3 separate regions of the Homo sapiens genome follow, and regions 2 and 3 are each linked to region 1. The links are contacts of gene promoters, found by promoter capture Hi-C in blood cells and fetal thymus (Javierre and others, 2016). All regions are on one chromosome and are shown on one strand. Each heading gives the region's core, a stretch centred on a gene start or on the middle of the fragment in contact. The rest is flanking DNA. Distances are from core to core; before and after follow the strand shown.

What was found. The method cuts DNA at HindIII sites, captures the fragments that hold promoters and counts their contacts. A CHiCAGO score of 5 or more calls a contact.
Region 2: a contact is called between a fragment that was not itself captured here and the fragment with the promoter of TSPYL5 in region 1, in 2 of 17 cell types (naive B cells and total B cells). The highest score is 7.2, in naive B cells.
Region 3: the fragment with the promoter of UQCRB here is called in contact with the fragment with the promoter of TSPYL5 in region 1 in 4 of 17 cell types (fetal thymus, naive B cells, total CD4 T cells and 1 more); the score reaches 10.1 in fetal thymus.

The regions. Positions count from the first base shown.
Region 1 is chr8:97,276,544-97,279,320 of GRCh38, forward strand. TSPYL5 (TSPY like 5) reads right to left here and starts at 1,385. Exons shown (of 1, transcript NM_033512.3): 1 at 1-1,385. The coding sequence starts at 1,301. The coding sequence ends at 48. All of the region lies in intron 2 of LOC101927066 (a long non-coding RNA gene), which reads right to left. RefSeq lists an enhancer at 422-923. The HindIII fragment of the contact is 4,352 bases long and covers 1-2,702 here.
Region 2 is chr8:96,263,624-96,266,485 of GRCh38, forward strand. All of the region lies in intron 1 of PTDSS1 (phosphatidylserine synthase 1), which reads left to right. It overlaps LOC105375652 (a long non-coding RNA gene), which reads right to left. Exons shown (of 3, transcript XR_928431.3): 2 at 2,633-2,714; 3 at 1,183-1,269. Among named protein-coding and RNA genes, the nearest start is that of PTDSS1, 3.2 kb to the left of the region's middle. The HindIII fragment of the contact is 2,143 bases long and covers 357-2,499 here.
Region 3 is chr8:96,234,118-96,236,873 of GRCh38, forward strand. It overlaps UQCRB (ubiquinol-cytochrome c reductase binding protein), which reads right to left and starts at 1,428. Exons shown (of 4, transcript NM_006294.5): 1 at 1,395-1,428. The coding sequence starts at 1,413. It overlaps UQCRB-AS1 (UQCRB antisense RNA 1), which reads left to right and starts at 1,176. Exons shown (of 2, transcript NR_183275.1): 1 at 1,176-1,444. RefSeq lists an enhancer at 1,155-1,434. The HindIII fragment of the contact is 3,599 bases long and covers 1-1,935 here.

The sequences.
Region 1 (2,777 bases), core at 135-2,634:
CAACCAGGAGCAGCCCAGCAGGAGGTAGCAGGGAGACTTGTGCAGGATCAGTTGGATTGGCTCACCCCAGGCTGAGTAGTCTCCATTGGCTGCTTTCCTGGACCTTGCCTGCCTTCTTTTTCCTTTCCTTTCTCTACACGAGCCCCTTCACTCAAAAGGTAGAACTGCAAGGGATTGGGCCACAATTCTTCGTTGATTATCTCCACAATCTTGTCAGACTCAATGGAGCTGTGGTTTGAAAACCACCCAAAGAAACTACGGTTGTTTTCTGGGTTTCCCTGGCTTAGGGACTGGAGATCATGCCCTGGGAGCCACTGGATTGGAGTAGAACGAGACACCACCTGGCCAGAAGGACCACACCCATATTCCTTGATGAGCACCTTATTTTGGAAATACGGGTTGCGATCGAAGTAGAACTTGATTTTGTAGCCCAATCTGGCAAGGCCGAGCTCTTCCACTTCCAAGCTGTTTAAGTAGCTCAGTACCTCTTTCTCTTGGCTATTCAGAAAGGATGCTAGCTGGGGATGGTTCTGAAATGCTTGCCCCCAGAAGCCCGGGATATTTTGGATGAGGTGGTTCCTGCGCTCCAAGTGCTGCAGTCGCAACTGCCCAAACTTCCTGGAGAGCCGAAGGTAGGCCCTGTCCGCCTGGGCGTTCATGTTCTCCAGCTTCAGCTGCACGTTCTCCAGCGTATCCATGCTGCCTTCCGTCGCTGGGGGCCCCGACCCTGCATCCCTCTCTTCCTTCTTTTCCTCCCCAGCTGACACCGAGGTATTCTCCCCTGCCGCCCCTTTCTTCTGCCTCCCACCAGCTATGACCTGAGGCCCCCTCCCCGCGGTGCTACAGGTTTCTGGGGCCTTCTTCCCGGCAGGGCCACGCCGGTTTCCAACGCGGGGGGCATTTTTCGGCCTTCCCACGGTTCCCGCTGTTCCCACGAAGACAGTGTCTGCGGCCAGGCGCTCCGAGAGAGATGCGGCCTTCCCCGGGCCGGGCCTGGCCGCGGCCTGCCCGTGGTCCCCCGCAGCTCGGGCCCGCAGCGCGAGGCCACAGTCCAGGGGGAGCCGGCAGGCGGCCTCCTCCCCGAGCCGGAGGAGCTGCGCGGACGCAGCGGCTTCCAGGCCACCCCACCCCGCGCCAGCCTGCACCTGTGCCGCCTGGGTGTCTTCCCCGAGACTCTGGTACTGTGAAGGGTCCGGGTCGCGCGGGGCGTCGTCCGGAGCAGGGCGGACTCGGGCTTTGGCGCGGCCTTTGCCCCGGTTTTTGGCGCGGGAGGACTTTCGACCCCGACTTCGGCCGCTCATGGTGGCGGCGGAGGCAGCTTCAAAGACACGCTGTGACCCTGCGGCTCCTGACGCCAGCTCTCGGTCGGGACCGAGCGGGTCTCTCCACGGCAACCGCCGACGTCACGAACGTACAACTGTACCGTCGCGAGAGGACGTGATGCGCCCGGTGATTGGCGCCGCCGCTGCGGCTGCGCAGGAGACGACCCCCGCGGGCGCTCCCACCCCCATCTCGCGCGGACTCGCTTTAGGTCTCGGCGAGTTTCTCTGATATGCGCTCGCGGGGGTGCTGCCATTTCATCTCTTCCGCGCGGGCTCATCGTGCTCTCAGGGTCTCGTTGAACAAGGCAACGCTAAGAGCCATCACCACCTGTCCCCCATCACCTGTTTTCTAAACTAAACATCTTCAGCTCCTCCAGTTATCTCTTGTGGCATCTGTCATGAAGAAAGTGCTCGGGCGTGTGTGTCTCTCTTTGAACACCTTTGCTGAGGGATTTGCTCTGGTACCTTAACTCCAGAGAACGTAAAGGTGGATGCTATAATGCCGGGCGTCAAAGCGATTTGGTACGCAGTAAGATGATAGTAGAAATTATAAAAATAATGGCAACTAGTATTTTGTATCATTTGTGCCAGGCACTTTACTAGGTGCTTTAAATGCATTATCTCAATTTACAAAGGAGGTGTTGATATCATTCCCATTTTCGAGATAAGAAAACTGCATCTCAGAGACACCCGGGCACATTCCCCAGGTTACACAGTAAGGGATGGAAGCACAATTCAAACTCAAGCCCATGGGACTCCGTATCCTATGCCTTATATTTGGAAATGGCAAGTCCTTCCAGACTTGTTCCACTGTCAATTACTGGGCTGGCTCTTAAGAAATCAGCCTTGCTCCTTAACAAACAGGCTTCCGTGGACCACCTGACCACCTCTTCTGCCTGGGAACATCACCCGAGTCCCCCAGCTGCCTCAGTTTACAGATCTGGACTATCACTCTAGGTATAGGACCAGAAGTGAAGACCTGTATTAGAGCTCCTGTAATTGGAGTAAGACAAGAATGTGGTGAGAGGTGAAATTATTATTCAGGGAGCAGATTGAGGTTCAGAAGCAGAGCCTCCACGTGGCACTGCAGAAGCCCTAGAAACTTCTTACACTGTGCATGGAAACAGCCGGACAACCTCCCCCACAGTCCCGGAGGCAGCCCTGGACCACGCTCTTACTAGTGAGGTAATAGGACCATGAACAGTGAGGGGACCTGTGGCTAATGTAAAAATATAAAGAAAAACCTTTTGAGGTGGTCTTTTCAGGCTCAAAGGGAACAAAAAGGCCCTTGTAACCAGCTAGTGGAGAGATAAGCCCAAAAGCCCCGGGACCTCATTACTCAAAGTGTGGTTGTGGACCAGCAGCCTGATATCACCTGAAAGCTTGTTAAAGATGCAGAATCTCAGGCCTTTCCCCAGACCTACTAAGTCAGAATTTGAATTTTAACAAGATCCT
Region 2 (2,862 bases), core at 178-2,677, 1.0 Mb before region 1:
AAGGTTCTCTGTCAGGGTCAGCAGAACATGTGTAGGGATATATATATTGGGTAGTCACAAGGATTGAGAGAACTTCTAGTATTTGGGAGGGGGAGCAGTTAACGGATACTAAATGTATTGTGACATATGTGACAGCGCTGTACAACATAAAGGGAATTGTCTTCTACACAGTCGTTTGCATACACACACACAAGTGCCGGTGGTGCCTCCCTTAGGAATAACTGCAGTTTTTCAAATCCTCATAAAACTAATATCCTCCCACATCACACTTGTTCCTTACCTCTGGGATTCATTTGACTCTTGGTTCTTGTTATGTAAGTGTTTATCCATTTGAAAGAATCTACCTAAAGGTATAAAGCTTAAGTAACAATTGCTTACTCTTTAATGATTGAGGGATCTTGCCACTATTACTATAAAATCTGCTAAAGCTGTGCAGCAGGTGAAGACCAGACCTTTCCACAGTACCTGACCAGACATATTTCTAGCTTTGGAGAGAAATGAATCATGTCCCTAACTATGGTTACTTTCAAATACTTCATTATGTTGCCTGATTTTATCACTTAATAGCTGTGTGGCCACATAATTTTGCTAGGCCTCAGTTTCCTTATCTGTATGTAAAATGAAAATATCAATACATTAATCTGTCGGGATTATTTGTCATGAGGATTAAATTCATCTTTTTAGATAATCTGTTTAGCTCAGTGCATGGCAAGTATTAAGTGCTTAATAAACATTAGTGGTTATTACGATGTGATTTCATTGAATGCTACTGTCTTCTAATTTATATTTATTATTGAACGAGGATGTAGTATGCTCTGTAATTGAGAAGGATAAAAGCACTGGAAAAATGGACATTAGATAACATACATACCTGTTTGATGTTAACTTCAGTTTAACTTCATCTTAGGTGTGGGCTTGAAATAATGAAATTAGTGAGGGAGTTTCTCTGGAAATTAGAAAAATAATTATGGTATTTTGTTTTAAATAATGAGAAGCAAGAATGAGCCATTTGTTTCAGCCTTTCATTTTTAATATTATTCTAGGTCCTTTCAAAATAGGTTTCTCTTCCTCTTTTCTGATATAAAAAGTCACAATCTTCTGAAATTTCCTTTTACATCATATTCTGTCAAGGCAGTCAATAAATTGCAGCAGTGAAAGTATAAGAAATGAATACGAATTTTAACAGCTTGTCCAAAATAATAGAAGAACCATAATCTGAACTTCAGACTGTAGTCTCATCCAAAAATGTTAACAATTTTATTTCTTCCACTAATTTCATAAAGAGACAGAAATCACATAATGAAGAACTAATTAATAACAAGTTTCACTTTATATAAAATCATAAGCACCATTAATAGAATTCGTACTTACTAAATCTTACTCATTTTTTGTAATGATTTGTGACTTAAGTGGGGCATTACAATGATAGCTCTATATTCCTCCATAAAGACGGAAAGTAACGACTTCTTAAATGAAAATGTATCCTATGTTCTTTTGTAATGATTAACTCCAGTGCCTTATTATTTATTTTATAAGATTTTAGTTGGACAATTGTTCAGTGCAATTCTTTCAGTAAAACTTAAAAGATATGTCTTAAAGTTTGTTTTGCAAAGACTAGTTGTCTAAGAGAACGAGGAGATAGGATTCTTTTGGGATGTCATATAACCAGTATGTGAGAAACAGTACTTGGGTACTGTCACATGCTTCAGAGATCCAGCAAGAATTTAAAATTACAGAGGATTAGATACCTTGCACTGAAGTCTGAGACAAGTTTGGATTTGTCAAGTAGTTCTTTTGTTAGATGGCCCTTAGGTCAATTCCCTGTTAAACCATAGTATTTAAATATCTCCTGTCTTTATCACCATCATTAAAAATAAAGTTAGATACTACCTAATCATTTTCCTATTTGAAAAAGCTCATTTCCAGCCTGGACAACATGGTGTAACCCTATCTCTACAAACAAACAAAACAAAACAAAACAAAACAAAACAAAACAAAAATTAGCTGGGCGTGGTGGCATGCACCTGGAGGCTGAAGTAAGACGATCACCTGAGCCTAGGAGGCAGAGGTTGCAGTGAGCTGAATCACGCCACCATACTCCAGCCTCCACCCTACTCACTCGACAGAATGAGACCCTGTCTCAAAAGAAAACCAAAAACTTATTTTCCCACATTTTAGAATAAGTAGGCTGGGTGCAATGGCTTACGCCGGTAATCCTAGCACTTTGGGAAGCCAAGGTGGGAGGATTGCTTGAGGCCAAGAGTCCAAGACCAACCTGGCTAACATAGCAAGACCCCATCTCTATTAAAAAATAAATAGTATTTTTATAAATAAATGCTTACGCATATGTCTTAGAAGTTTGTTAGCAAAGTAGGGCAAGGAAAACTTTTGTCTCAAGCTCAGAGTATAATAATTACCTATAAGATACCCTCATATTTACTCTGCATTCAGGGGTTGGTAAACTTGGAAATATTGAATGCCTTTAGTTTAAAAAACTCAAGCTTTAGATTTAGAAAACACCAGAATCTATTAATTCACATTCAAAGAAGCCCACCTCTCCTTAAGAGGCACCTGCCATTAAACAGTAGAATCAGCCTTTGTTAGCACTTGTCCAACAAAAATTGTTACTTACCTAGAAGACGTTGCCTTTCTGCGGATTTGTGTACTTAAGTGATCATCAATTTGTCTATGCTTCATTTCTCCTCGATTTAGAACTAAGGAGACAGGCAAGGACAGGGAAATGGACAGACTGATTGATTGACTGATTGATTTGTTAATAATGGTTTTTACTTAATTTCCCTTATTGGCTTTGGAACTCCAGTTCACCGTCATATCATTGGGGCATACTTGTGGCCACCTGTA
Region 3 (2,756 bases), core at 178-2,677, 1.0 Mb before region 1:
GGAAAGCAAACTCTCCTTTCACTCAACTCTCCTTGCTTGCAAACTCAGTGCACTACAGATTACGTGGCTTTAGCAAATCTCCTTGGAAATTAAGAGTCATGTATAAAACTGCTGCTAGAAAAACAAGTATCAGTCAACAATCTACAAACATACTTGTGGAAGACAGATTATATTCAACCACCTATCAGTGACTATAATAATATTCACTAAGCACTTATTGTGCACCAAACACTTTCCTATTTGCTTTACCAACATTAGCTGATTTATTTACATGTCTGTTACTACAGAAGGGGAAGCTGGCTTACAGAAGTGATCCCACCCAAGGTCAGAGTTAGCTAATGGGAGTTGAGATCTGGTCTATGTAGTTCCCAAACACGCACAGAAGCAGTGTCTTGAATTTAGTAAGACTCCTTCAATATCTGCCAAATTAATAAAATAATTATTTAAAAAGTCTCCCCCACCCCCAAAAAGCTCAATGTCAATTAGGTTAACGGATGTTTCTGGCAACCTGATGTTTCCTAACAGCTTCACAATTGCTGGGGGCGGGGAGAAAAGGATCAACATTTTTTAAGCTACTCCAACTTGGTTGCATTGCAGTGAGACGAGATTGTGCCATTGCACTCCAGCCTGGGCGACAAAGCAAGACTCCGTCTCAAAGACAAAACAAACAAACAAACAAAACGGCTACTCCAACTTGTACCGCCAGAGGGCAGAGATTAGCAAAAAAAAAAAAAAAGAAAGAAAAAAGAAAAAAAGAACCTACAATAAATTCAAATTTCTCCAAACCTACTGATCAAGCTGACGCTCTAGATAATCCAAGGTCAACCTGAAGCGTCGCTCGTATCCCTTGCTCAACTGTCTCTGATTCGCAGTTTGAGAAGCGCGAGGGGTGCAATGATATTTCCAATTCTACTTCCTTGGGTCACTTTGCCTCAGTTATCTTATCAGCGTAAAAGGGAAATTAATATCTCCCTCGTCGCAATGGCAAGAAAATTTATAGGGCCAATGCACACGATAGAGCACTTGGGTCATAGAAAGCACTGAGCTCATTCGGGTTGAAAGTCATCCACTAGTTATCCTCTTGTGCCCTTTAACTTTTCTAAGGCCAAGGGGAAGGACTTCCAAGCACGGGCAGCTGGAACTCCAGGGCTGTCAGAGCCACCGCGGGCACCTTCACAAACAGCGGGTTAACATCCCAACCCTATACAGGCAAGCCCGCCCTGGGGACAGCAAACGAGTGGGGAAGCACATCCTTTTCACTGGACTGAAGCAGCCAATTTCCCTTCCGCGACAAACTTGGCCACTTACAAAGAAGAGAGAAAACGGAGCAAGCTGCAGCAAAAATAAACGGTGAAGCGCGACGATGCCGGCCAAGAAGACCCCCAGTTACTTACCGGCCTGCTTACCAGCCATTTTGACCAGAAAGAGAAGCGTTGCCTTCTGGGTAAGTCATAGAGGACAAGCTGGGCCCAGTCCGCAGGCGCGTTACGTCACATCGCGAACAGAGAAAGGCCGCTTGCGCAGGCGCAGTTCTGACGACTGCCGTTCAGCACCTGCGTAAGCACCTCTCGGCCAGGGTGAGGCCAATGGAGTAGGCGGGGCATTTTGCGTGCTACATTCTAAGAAGTATTGGTTGTGATGTGATGGGAAGAACACAGGTCAGGAATTAGGAGACCAAGGCTTAAAGCTGGGTTCTGTTATTTGCTGTTAATAGCTATGGGAGCGTGGACAGTATTAATTCAGCTCTTTGTGCCAGGCAGGAAGCTAAATGTTTTAAGGGCATCGTCTTACTTTCTATTGAAGGACTGATGGATGTGCCATCCCAAAAATATATGGAATTGGTACATTGATTATTTCGAGTTGAAAATATTGGAGAAATTGTAGTTTCAGAAAAGGTTTGATGACCTATCTCTTCCTGCATGCAGCAAGCCATAAAGCTTCCTCCAGGATTCCTCTGGAGTACCCGTCCCTTACCAGAGGGAGAAAATAGCACCTATCACCAGAGACGAAACTGGGGGCTGCTTTGGACCTGAATATACTTTCCGAAGTAACCGTTATCTTCCACTAAGTTTACACCCCAACACACACACTTTTCTCCTAATGACTCCGCGAGAAATTTACTGCCCCTAGCCAGATCCCCTTTCTTCTGATTTGTAGTTCGTGTAAAAAGTATAAAGGCATCTTACATTGGCCACTTCACTCTTTTGTGCGGATCCCCATGTACATGTAAAACTAGTAAAATTAGTATGCTTTTCTCTTGTTAATCTGCCATGTGTCAATTTGGTTCCTAGATTCAACCAAAGAGCCCACATAAGAGCAAAGGGGAGGGAGGGTTGGAGGTGATCTCTCACTCCCCTAAACTATCTTTTAATTCTAAAAGTACTGTAATTATCTCATTGTAGAGAGGAGAAAGCTGAGGCTCAGAAAGGTTGAATAACTTGTCCAAGAGCACATGACTAGAAGAGTCCAGGTTCTTCTTCCAGAATCTGAAAATCCAGATGCAAATTTGGGGCTCCTTAATTCTAGGGTCATATGCTATACTGCTACACTACTAATCCAGGAAAGACACCAAGCCTTTCAGGCCTTGGGTTTCTCCAGCTGAAGATCTATATCTAGCTATTTTAGTGGAAGGTTAGGTCAGAAAAGGTTTTGGGTTTTTTTTGTTTGTTTTTTTTCACCCTTTTTTTTGTTGTTCAGCCTCTGTCACCCAGGCTGAATGGCACAATCTCGGCTCACTGCAACCTCTGCCTCCTGGG